Regions from separate parts of the Homo sapiens genome. Here regions 2 and 3 are each linked to region 1. Evidence: promoter capture Hi-C in 16 types of primary human blood cells and fetal thymus (Javierre and others, 2016). All regions are on one chromosome and are shown on one strand. Each heading gives the region's core, a stretch centred on a gene start or on the middle of the fragment in contact. The rest is flanking DNA. Distances are from core to core; before and after follow the strand shown.

What was found. Contacts are between HindIII fragments. The CHiCAGO score rates a contact against its expected background, and 5 or more counts as called.
Region 2: the fragment with the promoter of BBS1 here is called in contact with the fragment with the promoter of LRFN4 in region 1 in 1 of 17 cell types (naive B cells); the score reaches 5.4 in naive B cells.
Region 3: the fragment with the promoter of ANKRD13D here is called in contact with the fragment with the promoter of LRFN4 in region 1 in 1 of 17 cell types (erythroblasts); the score reaches 5.8 in erythroblasts.

What each region holds. Positions count from the first base shown.
Region 1 is chr11:66,855,814-66,860,134 of GRCh38, reverse strand. LRFN4 (leucine rich repeat and fibronectin type III domain containing 4) reads right to left here and starts at 3,071. Exons shown (of 2, transcript NM_024036.5): 1 at 1,042-3,071; 2 at 1-498. The coding sequence starts at 2,390. All of the region lies in intron 12 of PC (pyruvate carboxylase), which reads left to right. RefSeq lists silencers at 3,186-3,295, 3,456-3,985. The HindIII fragment of the contact is 17,472 bases long and covers 1-4,321 here.
Region 2 is chr11:66,508,426-66,512,675 of GRCh38, reverse strand. BBS1 (Bardet-Biedl syndrome 1) reads right to left here and starts at 2,041. Exons shown (of 17, transcript NM_024649.5): 1 at 1,970-2,041; 2 at 1,587-1,663; 3 at 1,437-1,471. The coding sequence starts at 2,016. DPP3 (dipeptidyl peptidase 3) reads right to left here. Exons shown (of 18, transcript NM_130443.4): 18 at 3,019-3,597. The coding sequence ends at 3,425. RefSeq lists an enhancer at 2,130-2,179. The HindIII fragment of the contact is 5,944 bases long and covers 1-2,117 here.
Region 3 is chr11:67,286,941-67,290,788 of GRCh38, reverse strand. ANKRD13D (ankyrin repeat domain 13D) reads right to left here and starts at 1,486. Exons shown (of 15, transcript NM_207354.3): 1 at 1,239-1,486; 2 at 576-711; 3 at 343-467. The coding sequence starts at 1,328. RefSeq lists enhancers at 1-211, 212-1,136, 2,371-2,580, 3,331-3,580 and silencers at 1,131-1,900, 2,081-2,150. The HindIII fragment of the contact is 22,420 bases long and covers 1-3,848 here.

The DNA of each region.
Region 1 (4,321 bases), core at 1,822-4,321:
AGCAGCCCCCCATGCACAGAGTGGCTCCGTCGGGCCCAAGCTCCTCCCAGGCGCCTGGCATAACCGTAGCACCCGGCATCTCCCAGGTCCAGAGAGCAGCTGCGCTGCGGCCGGGGCGGGGGGCTCCGCGGCGGGTGGGCCTTGGGTGTGGGGCTGGGGCCTCCATTGGTCTGGGACTGGACGTGGCTGAGCTTGAGGGGGAGGCGGCCATTTCCGGCCCCCCGGCCCCGAACCAGCAAGGCCACAGTGAAGACCAGTAAGGCAGCCACCAGCACACCCCCCACGGCCACGGTCAGGGTCCCGCCCAGCACGTGGGCCTGCAGGGCGTGGCACAGGGGCGAGGCCGGCAGCGTGGAGAAATGGGCACAGCCCAGCAGCCTGGTGGCCGTGAGGTCAGAGGGCCCAGCGGCCGGTGACAAGGCCAGCAGGCAGAGGTCATAGTCAGCGCCGGGGACGAGGTGCTTCAGCAGGAAGTGGTGGCTGGAGGCTGGGACAATCCTGCAGGCAAGGGCAGGTGGTCAGAGCCCGGGGCTGGGGTCTAGCCCCATCCTCACCTCCCCACTCCCGTGCTCCCAGCTCCAAACACCCCTCCCCCTGGGGCCACTCGGGCTCTTGGGTTCACTCAGGAAGGTGAACAGGCTGGAGAGTGTGGCCAGGAGATGGGTGTGTGCACTGGCACAGGACGCAGGCAAGCGAGGGGAATGGGGTGGGGGGATGGCACCAGCAGAGGCAGAAATAACACGCGGGCGCGGGCCATGTGCTTCAGACAGACCCAACCGCCACCTGCTGCCGGGGAGGCCTGCACAGCTCAGTGACACCTGGGACATCTCGGGGTGGGGTCCTTCTGCCGCCCCTTGAGCTCCAGCCCCCTCAGGCAGCCAGGCCAGGCCAGGCCACTGCTCCTCCAAGAGTCCAGCAGCCATGGTCGGGGAGGGGGTGTCAGCCCCAGAGAGAGGAGGGGTGGAAGCAAAGCCTTGTGGGGAGCAGAGGGCGGAGGAAGGGCGCCGGGAGTGCAGCCGGGTGTGGGGCACGCATCCTCACCGGTAGATGAGGGTCTCATCTTCGCTGCTGTTGTACTGGATTTGGAACATCCACACTGGGTCGGCTGGCCGCCCGGGACCCCAGCTCACCAGCCCTGAGGTGGCGGTCACCTCCGTCACCTGCACGGCTGGCTCAGACTCCAGCGTCCCCTCACCCTCGGCAGCAGTGCGAGCGGAGGCGGCGATGTCCGAGGGCCCGGGGCGGCCCCCCTCGGCACTGCTGTTCCCACCATGGGGCAAGGCCAGCACCCGCAGTTCTACTCGGGCTGTGGCCTCACCAGCAGGGTTGGTGGCGATGCAGGTGTAGCCCCCAGCGTCCCCAGCGCCGGTCACCCCAATCTCTAAGGTCCCGTTGGGGAAAGCCCGGGCTCGGGAGGAGTTGCCAACCAACCGGTCGTCAGGACCGACCCAGTGCATGGTAGGCGCGGGGTCACCCAGGGCCCGGCACCGCAGCGTGGCCCGCTGGCCTTCCAGCACCCAGAGGCGCTGCGTGTGGCGGGCAATGAGGGGCGGCTCACAGGAGAACTCGCCCTCGGGCACTGCCCAGAAGTAGCGGCCGGCCAGGCCGGGCGGGGAGGCGCACGTTTCCAGGTCGTCCGGCCGCGCCAGCCGCCGCAGCCACAGCAGCTCACAGTTGCAGTGCAGGGGGTTCCCGCTAAAGCTCAGCACCAGGGGGGCGGGAGAGGCCTCTGCATCACGCCCACGAGAGAAAAGCGGGTCCGGAGCCAGCGTGGCCAGGCGGTTGGAGGTGAGGTCCAGGCGGGAGAGCTGACCGAGCTGGGCGAAGGCGCCTGGGGGCAGTGCGTCAATAAGGTTATGGTCCAGGTTGAGGGTGTGCAGGGCAGGCATGGCGCCGATGCCGGCCCAGGGCACCTGCCGGAGGTTGTTGTAGGACAGGTCCAGGTCCTCCAGGCTCTCTAGGAAGTCGTCGAAGGCTCCCGGCGCGATGCGGCCCAGCTGGTTGCCGCTGAGGATGAGGTGCTGCAGATTGACGGGGCCCCGGAGGCTCCCGGTGCCCAGCTCCACCAGCCTGTTGCCGTCAAGGTGGAGGGAACGCAGGCTCTCGAGGTCCCCAAAGGCGCGGGCCCCAATGCGGGTGATGGCATTGCGAGACAGTGTCAGGTCCACCAGTCCCGTCATGTTGCGGAAGTCAGGGGGCCCCAGGGCCTGGATGAAGTTGTCAGCCAGCCGCAGCTCCACTGTGCGCCGGTCCACGTTGGGCGGCACAAACAGCAGGCCTCGGTGGGCACAGAGGGTGCTGAGCGACTCGGACAGGTTCTGGCAGACGCAGGGCAGCGGGCAGGCGGCCGCTCCACTGGCCAGCAGCAGCAGCAGGAGCGGCGGGGCCATGGTGAGCGCCCTGTAGGAAGGGGCCACAGCCCAGGCACAGGTGGGGCTGGCGCAGGTGCCCACTTGGGCCCAGGACAGTCCCAGAAGCCAGCTTCTGTGAGCCTGGCCCGGGGAGGGGCTGGGTCAGAGGCCCAAGAGGGCCGCCAGAGATGAGGGAAGGTTGGGGCCTGCAGGGCCAGGCCCCCCAGAGCAAAGGTCACATTTCCCAAGCAGTTAAGGGGGAGTCCAGGCGCTGGGGACAAGGTGAGGCATGAGGCAGGAAGCGGAGGAGGACCGAGAGCAGGGAGGGTCCCGGAACTTCCTTTCCCAGGCGTCCCCAGGAATCGCCAGCCGCCTCCCCACTCCCCGCCATACCCTCCCCCGCCAGAGAAGGCGCCCCCCGAACCTCCCGTGGAGTCCGTGGCCCCTCCCTGGCCGGCCCCCGCGCTGCGCCCGGCGGCCCCCTCACCTGGTGTCCGTCGCTCAGGGGGCGCGGGCCGGCCTCCCTGCGAGCCCGGCCGGCCCCCGCCGACTCCTGGCCGCTCTCCCGCGGGGACGAGGCCCGGGGATGACCGGCCGCCCGCCGCCCACCCTCGGGCCCATGGCGCTCGGGCCCGCGGCCCCGGCTCGCTCGGTTCCCGGCACCTTTTCCCGGCGCGGTTAGCGGTGGCGGCGGCGACAGGCGAGCGGGTGCGCGCCGGCGGGCGCGCGCGCCGCGGACACGCACGTGGAGGGCGGACGGGGAGGGGCGCGCGGGGATCCACCCGGGCCCGGGCCGGCTCCTGAGGTCACGGGGACACGCGGCCGCTGCAGCGCCCACGGGTGGCGCCCAGTCACGCCCGAGGCCCGGGCCGGCGCGGGCCCTCCGCGCTGTCCCCCGGCGCTGCCGCAGCGCACTCACCCTGGCACAGGCGCGCGCGCCCCCGGCCATCCTGGCGCCCCGGCATCCTGCACCGCACGGGCGCCCGCCGCCGCGGCGCGAACCTCACTCTGCAGACAGCCAGACAAAGCGCCTGCTCGCGGGCCCCTTCACCATCTCCCGGAGACGGGCGTCTTTGTCACATGTCGCTGGGCACCCTCCCCAACACACCCACACATGCCCACACACCCACACGTCCCTGCACCCACGGGCAGGGCCGAGCGCAAACCCGCACTGTTGCTGGGACCCTTGCGTTCACAGACACACGCTGAAGGTCATAACCGTTCTGCATCACCGAGTCACGTGGAGGGTCCCCAACCGGCACGGGGTTCGGCCGTGGGGGGGGCTGGGGCGGCGCCCCTGGCAGGGCTGCTGCGGGGTGGGGCCGAGAGGGCTTGGCCTCCGGGCAGGCGCCCCGCCCCCGCCGCCCCGCCCTGTCCCCAGCTGCCTCTCGCCTCTCCCTCCCTCCCCAGCTGCCCCGCCCGCCCCGCGGGCCAGGCGTTCCGGAGCCAACCGGCCTCCGCCTCGGGCCGGATTGGTCTGCGCGGCGCGGCTTCCCAACCGCCGGGGGCACGCATTGGGAAGCTGTGCGTCCTCGCAGCGCCTGCGGCCCCTCCCTCCCGCTCTGTCGCCGCCGGGCCATTTCCCTGGAAGAGCGGCTCGGAACCAGCTCCTCTCAGAGAAAGGGCTCCCGGCGTGAGGTGGGGGAGGTTCTTTGCTTCCTGGTTGAGAAAGCTGGGGCTTCGGTGGCTCGGCGAGCCTGGTTTCCTTCCAGCTGTGCCCGCCACCACCAGTGGTCTGCCCAGTTGGGAAACAGGAAGTCACCACCTCCCCGTGTCTCCTGGTCCTTAAGCCACCTAAACCTCAGCCATCCTCGTTCTCCCTCCAGCCCTGATCCCCATGGGCCAGGTGGCAGGAAACTCGGGGAAACCCAAGATTGGAATTCTGATCCTGTCAGCACAGCAGTGTAGTCCTGGGCACGTTACCTGACCACTGAAAACAAGTTCCTCCTGTAGGCCAGGAGAGTTGGATG
Region 2 (4,250 bases), core at 792-3,291, 350 kb after region 1:
AGCTACTGTGTCTGTGGTTTCTCTTCCCTCACTATTGTAAGCCCAGAGCCAAATACAAACTAGGTATTCAATCAATATCATGGAATAATTGTCGACAGTGTATCTCCTCCTGACCACATGCTGATGCATTTCTGAGTGTAGTGTCCCCATGATGCCTGACACACAGTAGGGACTCACTATACACTTGCTGAATTACTGAATACATTATGGATAGGAATTTGGGGGCAAAAACCACTGAGTCCTATTGCACTCTCTGTGTGGGGTGGGATTCCAGGACTATCTTCTAGCCACCCACATGATATATCCATTGTGGTGTTGTTGCCCATGGTGAGGGCTGAGCTTTGGTAGAAAAAGCACAAAACTTGGAATCAAACAGACCCAGTTACAAATTCAGTAAACTTCACCTCTTTGAAACTATTTTCCCATTCACAAAATGGGAATAAATAAAATCCATGTTTATGTGCCTCCATGGAATGTCTAGTCCAGAAATGGATACTGAATCCATGCTAACTTCCTTTCTTTTATCCCAATATATTTCTCTACCTTTAAAAAACTTGTATCTTTTTAAATTTACATTTTTATTTAAAATTAAATATATGTATATATATATACATATATATACACATATATATACATATATATACATATATATACACATATATATATATATATTTTTTTTTGAAACTGTCTCACTCTGTCATCCAGGCTGGAGTGTAGTGGCATGGTCTCAGCTCACTCAACCTCCGCCTCCTGGGTTTGACCAATTCTCCTGCCTCAGCCTCCCAAGTAGCTGGGATTACAGGTGCCCATCACCATGCCCGGCTAATTTTTGTATTTTTAGTAGAGATGGTGTTTCACCATGTTGGACAGGCTGGTCTCGAATGCCTAAGCTCAAGCGATCCACCCACCTCAGCCTCCCAAAGTGCTGGGATTGCTGGCCTTAAAATTAAATTTAAAATGTAACATTTTTACTATGGAAAATTTTCATTCACATACAAAAGTAGAGAGACTCATATAATGAGTCCCCATATATCCCATTATCCAGCTTCAAAAATTGACAGCTCATGGCCCATCTTAAAATCTTTTGATAAACATCAAACGTTCACTTCCCTCCTTTTTACTTTCCCTCCAGATTCTAGTGCCCACCCCCAACCAAGGGATTTGCCCTTCCAACAAAGAAATCAGGTTAACTAAGAGGCTTTGTCTTAGTAGAATCCCCAGAAATATTTGATCTGCTTTACTTTCTGCAGTCTGTATTATGAAATCAATAAGTTCTCTTCACTTTCCATATAAAAACAAAATTTAACGCTAAATGTGCTTTTTCACAGTATATGTGAATTCCAGAGTATGCTGGGCCTATTTTCAGCCGTCAGGAAATCTCATTTCTGGGTACACCCCCCTACCCTCAACTCTCCTGGCTAGGGTGATATGCTTACCTTGTATTCCCCATCCCCATGTAAATCTGCCAGCGCTGGAAAACAAAAGGGCCAAAACCAGAGTCTCAGAATCCCAGAGGCTTCACTACAGGACCATTGTCTGACTCCCCATCCCACTAGAACCCAGGGTTCCTGGTTCCAGAGACTCACCTAGGCAGGCAGAAAAGGTGTGGATATTGGCCATTGGGTCGTAGTGCGCATCCAACCACTTCGAATTGGCCTCATTGCTGGAAGTGGGGGAAAGACAGTTGGGGAGTGAGTCCCATGGGAGGGGAAAAAAAAACTTTGAGGAAGCTGGTACAGGTCACTCTGAACATAAGGTACAGAACGTCTGGGTACAAGTCCAGGCTCCGCCACTGGCTCACCGAGCGACCTCCAGACACACATATGCACATCTTAGGCCTCGGTTTCCCTATCTGACCTCTTAAGAGTCCTTCCAGACTGCCCGAGAACAGCAGGAGCCCAGAGCCCGGGGACCAAGGGACCCTCTTTACACGGGTGGGAAAAGAGGCCTTGAGGAGCCCTGCCTTCACCTCTCAGCTCCGCAGGCGTCGGAATCCGATGAGGACGCAGCGGCCATCTTCGCAGGCGTCGTCCTGGCAACCGGCCCCGCCCTCGCGTAACGCCCAATAGTGCCCGAGCACAGGGAAGGGCGAGTACAAAGGTTCCGGGCGCCAAGCTTTCCCACCCAGGCTCAGGAGGACGCGCTGGCCACCTTCCTGGGTTGAGGAATCTGTCTCAGATTCCTCAAAGATATTTATCTTTGCTCCTTCCCAGTCAGAGCCACCTTTCCAGGCGTCTGGGTCCTACAATCTCTGGGTCAGCCACAGAGCCCTCTGGCTTCCAGGGTTGGAAAGAAGCCCCTTCTAGCATTTATGAGCAGCAAAAAGAACTCCTCCTGTCTCCATCTTCATGGTTACCCGGTTGAAAAGGACCATGTCCTGCCTTGCTGCGTTACTGTAGAGGTCCAGGCCCAGAGAAACAAAACACGAGGGTTATGGGACAAATGCAGAGGATTCTGACTGAAGTTGAGTTTGTAGGTTCCCAGAACTTTTTTTTTTTTTTTTTTTTTTTGAGACGTAGTCTCGCTCTGTCGCTTGCGCTGGAGCGCAGTAGCGCGATTTCGGCTCACCGCAACCTCCGCCTCCCGGGTTCCAGGGATTCTCCTGCCTCAGCCTCCCGAGTAGCTGGGATTACAGGCGCATGCCACCATGCCCAGCTACTTTATTTTTTAGTAGAGACGAGGTTTCACCATATTGGCCAAGCCGGTCTCGAACTCCTGACCTCGTGATCCCCTCGCCTCGGCCTCCCAAAGTGCTGGGATTACAGGCATGAGCCACCGTGCCCGGCCCCAGAACATTTAAAAATGCAAGGAATGCCACAAAGGAGAGCTGCAAAAATTGTGCTATGTTCAGCTCTGTGACTGCGTATCCTCATCTAGAGATAATGTCAACATCCTGTTGTGGAAGGGAGGCTAAAAATGGCCCTCCTTGCCCCCTCCCCAGGCCTTGAGCCCATCACTCTGCTGGGAGTAAATGAGAAGACAGGCAAAGGCAAGGAGGAGCCACACACGCCGCAAAGATGGTGGTTGTCTCTAATATTTATTTGTCTGGTTATAAAATTAATATGTGAGGAGCATTGGATTTGGTGAGAACGTTTTGAACCCTAGCTGTCACGTGCCACCTGCGGGATCTAGACCAGTGACTTCTCAGAACTGCCATTTCCTCATCTGGTAGACAGGATGGTAAGCCCTGTCTTGCTCACTCCACGTATGGCAGTGCAGATGAAATGAGATCACAGAGGGGAAGCAATTGGCAGGCTGGAAAGTGCTGACAAATGGAAGGGGTTGTGTCACCACCCTCAGCTGAGGTAGTACCAAGGTCCAAGCTCCTGCCCCTCCCCCTCCCCAGCCCCTAAATACACACACGAATGGAGGGCCACTTGCAGCCTTGGTCTGATGGAATTGGGGGCAAGGCCACACATCTTCCTCAAGCTTGGCCAGATGGGGCCTCACTGGGGCCCTTCCAGAATCGGGCATCGGCTGTGGCCAGCTGTGTGAGGATCTCCTCCAACTCGGGTCCATCCTCTGGGAAACGCTCAGAGAAGGATCGGATGAGGCCAGCAGCTGACGCCTCGTATTCCAGAAGCTGCACGTCTGAGCCTGGGGAGGAGATGGAGAGAAAACAGCAGGGAAAGGTCTGAATAGGGAAACTGAATCATCATAAAAATCTTAATAATCACAATTACAGCAGCAGCTGTTTCTTACTGAGCTCTGCCAAAAAAACCTGTGCTCTACGTTTTAGGTTAATTACTTAATTTACTCTTTACAGTAACCCTGTGAGGAAGGAAATACTACAGGGGGAGTATTAAATGCATTGCTGCTTTCGTTCATTCAGTCAATCAAATAAAGATTTAGGCTGGGCATGGTGGCTCATGCCTGTAATCCTAGCACCTTGGTAGGCTGAGGTGGGAGGATCACCTGAGGTCAGGAGTTTGAGACCAGCTTGGCCAACATGATGAAACACTGTTTATACTAAACATACAAAAAAATTAGCTGGGCGTGGTGGCATGAGCCTGTAGTCCCAGCTACTCGGGAGGCTGAGGCTGGAGAATTGCTTGAACCCGGGTGGCAGAGGTTGCGGTGAGCAGAGATCGTGCCACTGCACTCCAGCCTGGGTGACAGTGAGATTCCACCTCAAAATAAATAAATAAATAAATAAATAATAAAAGACACCAGGTGCCACACTAGGTGAAACAGATACAGTCCTTGGTGTCCTGAAGCTCACAATTCAGCAACGACTTCATCTGTCTACT
Region 3 (3,848 bases), core at 237-2,736, 430 kb before region 1:
CTCCGTGTGCTTCCAGAAGGGTGCGTAGTAGCAAGTATTCCAGGGTTTCAGGCCATAATCCACCGAGTCAACCTGAAGTCCCTGCTCCAGGTAATCTGCATTCTTCAGGAGGCCCAAAGCTGGCAAGGCTTCTCTTCCAAAGGGTCCAGTCTCTCCCACGTGAGCCTGGCCGTCTCTCTTTCCTACGTGACCCTGGGCTGGGGTCAAGATAGACAGACCTCCTTGCTGGTGGCAGGAGGCACACTGCACAAACTGGGTGCCTTTCCAAGGCCAGGCCTGGCACAGTAACCAGGGTGGTGCCCTGCCATGGTACCCCACCTCCATAACTGTGCCCTGCTGTACCTGGCGAAGTTTGTTGAGCAGTTCCGGAATGCCCGCCAGCCTCTGCGTGGCCCTCTGGTAGTCCCGATACTGGAGCACCAGCTGCACCATCTCGGGGTCTCCAGTGCTGACTGCCTCCTGCAGGACTGCGGGCACCAGGCTGCTGAGGGGAGCCCTCCAGATGACCCCAGGCCTGGCTGCTCACTGCCCCCCGCCTGCCAGCCTCAGGGGGAGCCCCTTGTCCTCTGCAGTACCTGCCCAGCCCTGGCGGTTCTCTTTGCCCACGTTGGCATTGTGTCGAAGGAGCACTCTCACAGACTCCAGGTTTCCCAGAGACACGGCCAGCTCCAGTGGGGTCCGCCCGCGGGGGTCCTCCTGTTCAATGTCGTGCTGGGGGAGACGGGACACTCACAAAGGGCAGGAGAGAAGAGGGCAAGGCAGGGAGGCTGCCAGGGCGAGCAGGGTTGGGAATCGCTGTGGGAAATAAGGACGGCGGACTGACCAGGGAGATGGCAGAGGGTGGCCTGCGTGTCCTGGCAGGGGAGAGGAGGGGGCAGGAGGGAAGGCAGGGGCAGAGCCGGGGTCTGGCGGCGGGGCCTGGTCAGGCAGAGCTGCAGGTTGTCAGGAGTTTGGCGGAACCTGGGGACCAGGACCAGAGTTCTTGTTCTCAGCTTGGGTCAGCAAGGATGCGGAAGCGAGTTCGGGCGAGCAGGGCAAGGCCCAGCGCAGGGGAGAGGAGGCCAGAGGCTCAGGCGCGAGGGGCCGGTGACCTGGGCTTGGGATCGTGCAGGGGAGGAAGGCCCAGGATGTGGCTGCGGAGCTGAGCGGGCGGGGGGGGGGGGGGGGCTCCAGGACGGAGGCCACAGCCTTGGGTGGGGGACCCGGGGGAAGGGCCGGGTGCCCCAGCGGGGCCTCACCTGGTGGCTGTGCAGTGCGGCCTCCAGTTCGCGATGCCGGTTCGCCCAGACGAGCCGGTGCAGCGGGAAGGTGGGGCCCGGGCCGGCCATGCTGGGCCTCAGCGCCGCATCCCGGCCCCGCCTCGGCTTCGGGCCTGGCACGGCCCCCTAGCCTCCCCTCCGAGCCGCGCCCCAGCTGCGCCCCCCGCGGCCCCCGCAGCAGTAGCGGCGGCGGCGGCGGCGGCGGCAGCGCGGGCGGCAGGGAGGGCGGGGCGGGCGGCGGAGCGGGCGGGGCTGCGCCGGGCCGGGGCGGGGCTTCGCGCGCGCCCCCGTCCCCCCGCAACCATGGCAACCGCGGCCAGGCCAGCGCGCGGCAGAGCAACCGCGAGCGCCCGAGGAGATGCCCGGCCTTGGGTCTGCGCCCCGACCTCGGTCGGGCCCGGGTCCGCTGGGGCGGCCTGGAGGGCGGTGCCCGGTTACAGCTCCGCCCGCGGCCCGCAGGAGGCGCCCCGAGCCCTGCGCAGACCCCCGGAGCCGGGTCCGGAAGAGGAAGGCGGGGCCGGAGGGGGCGGGCACTGGGCCCCTCGGTAGTGCACGCGCGTGCGCGGCGGGCCGCGGTCCTGCTGCAGCCGTGATGCCTGCGTTTCCCCCGCGGATCCCCTTGCTCGCCCCGGTCTTCCTACCCCAGGTCCCGCGGTCACCGACTCTGCTGGGGTGTGCGGGTGAAGTGGGGCGCCCCGGCTCCCCTCACCCGGCCTGGAGACGAGCAACGAGCAGACGCCACTAAGTGCTTGCCGGCTGAGCGGGAAGCACCTTCCCCTGGGACCTGGCCGGTGTCTGCAGGCCCAGCGATGCGGGGAGGCGGCCCCCGGGGCCCTGAAGTCAGGGATAGGAGTTCGGGGAGAGAGGGGCGCAGGCCCAGGCAGCGGCAGAGCCGTCCCGGCGGAGGACCGCCCGCGGCGAACGGCTGCCTTCGCCCGCCGCACGAGTCCCTTTTGCAGAGGCTGCGGTTGGCTGCCAGCGTCAGGAGAGGAAGGCGAGTTTCGAAATCAGGGCCGGCCCCTCCACCCACACCGGAACTAGGGTGCAGGCCTCCGTCAGCTCAGTTCCGGCCCTTGATTACTGGAGGCCCAGCCTGGGGTCTGGGGCCCTGGTTTTGCTAGGTGGCCAAGGCTGACCCTCTATTCTCCCTTTCCCTACGTGGAACATGATTGAGGAGGGCCAGCTAGCTTGAGCATCACTTCCTGCTGTAGGGCGTCCTCAGTTCTGAGACTCTGGGCTGGAAGGCCTGATTGCCATTTTTACCCTGCCTTCTCCCTGTAGTCACATGGCGCCTGTGCCATCTGGGGTCACTTTGCCACCCCACGCTATGGTGTCAATCTGTGAGGTCCTGGGGTTGGTAGCAGCCCGAAGGCTTCTGAATGCCCAGAGCTCACCTGCTCACCACTACTGCAGCCCTCCCTGGCCACCCCTTTTCTCAGAGGCGGTCCCTTCCCTGAGCCCTCTCCAAACTCAACCCCGACAGGACTTTCTTGGTTCCAGCCTCTCCTGATTTCTGCCATCTTGAACACAGCTCCCCACTGGCACTTAATTCCATGACAGTGCCTTCTCAACCCTCTTCCACGGCCTCCTCTCTCTCCCTGACCCCCACATCCCTGGGAGAGAGACTGTCCGTTCCCATTGTCACCCTGATGCCACCCCCAGGTCCACATTTCAGCTTACTCCAGGACATCTCTGTGCCCAGGGATCCCATGCTATCCCATCAGTATGTCCGAAGCCAACCCAACCACACCTACCCTCTTCCCCAGACTCCCGCCTCACTCAGCCCCAAGTCCAGCCTGTTTCTGCTGGACCACGTTCTTCCCGTCTGGCCTCTTTTCATCTCTTCCTCTCCCACTGCGGAGGTTTGTCTCCCTGCCTCCTGTCCTTCACCTCCCTCCCCACATCCTGTACTCAGTAACCAGGCAATCACTTTAGAGCCAGCTCTCACCACTCTCAGCCCTGTTCCGCACCTTCAAGGGCTCCCTGAGCATGGCAGGTCTGGACTCCATGTCGTTTGTATCTTCATTCTGCAGGCCCTGAGCACACACCTGGCTCCGGGATAGGTTAAGCCTGGCATTCAGTGCCTCCAGGCATGGCTCCTTCCTATAGTCCTCCGGCCAGCCTGGGCCACTCATGAGTCCCTGGCTCTTCCCTGCCTCAGAAATGTCCTCCCTCCTTCCCACACCAATGCTGGAGGCCTGGCTCAAAGGCCATTGCCCCTGACTCTTGTATTCAGCCCTGAGTACCCTGCCCAGCTGCCTGCCTCCCTTCTCTGCCTGGCATGCTGTGCTTTGGCCATGGGCCCCAGCCATGCCCAGCAAAGCCCTGTGTGGAGTGGGCAGCAACATGTATCTGTTTAGTCACCCGCGGGGCTAGGGCAGGGACCTGGGGAAAGGGAAGTTGACCAGAAGCCTCTGGGTAGAGGAGAGGCCTAGTGCTGGGGTTCCCCTCAGGCCTCAGGGACCCCTACTAGGGCTGTGCAGTGAGGCCAGAGAGGAGGCTGAAGCCAGAGATGGCCAAGGGCCCAGAGGCTGCGGTGTGACCTAGAGGGAAGAGGTGCCTTGTGACTGTTTCTGGGGAGGGGCCTCA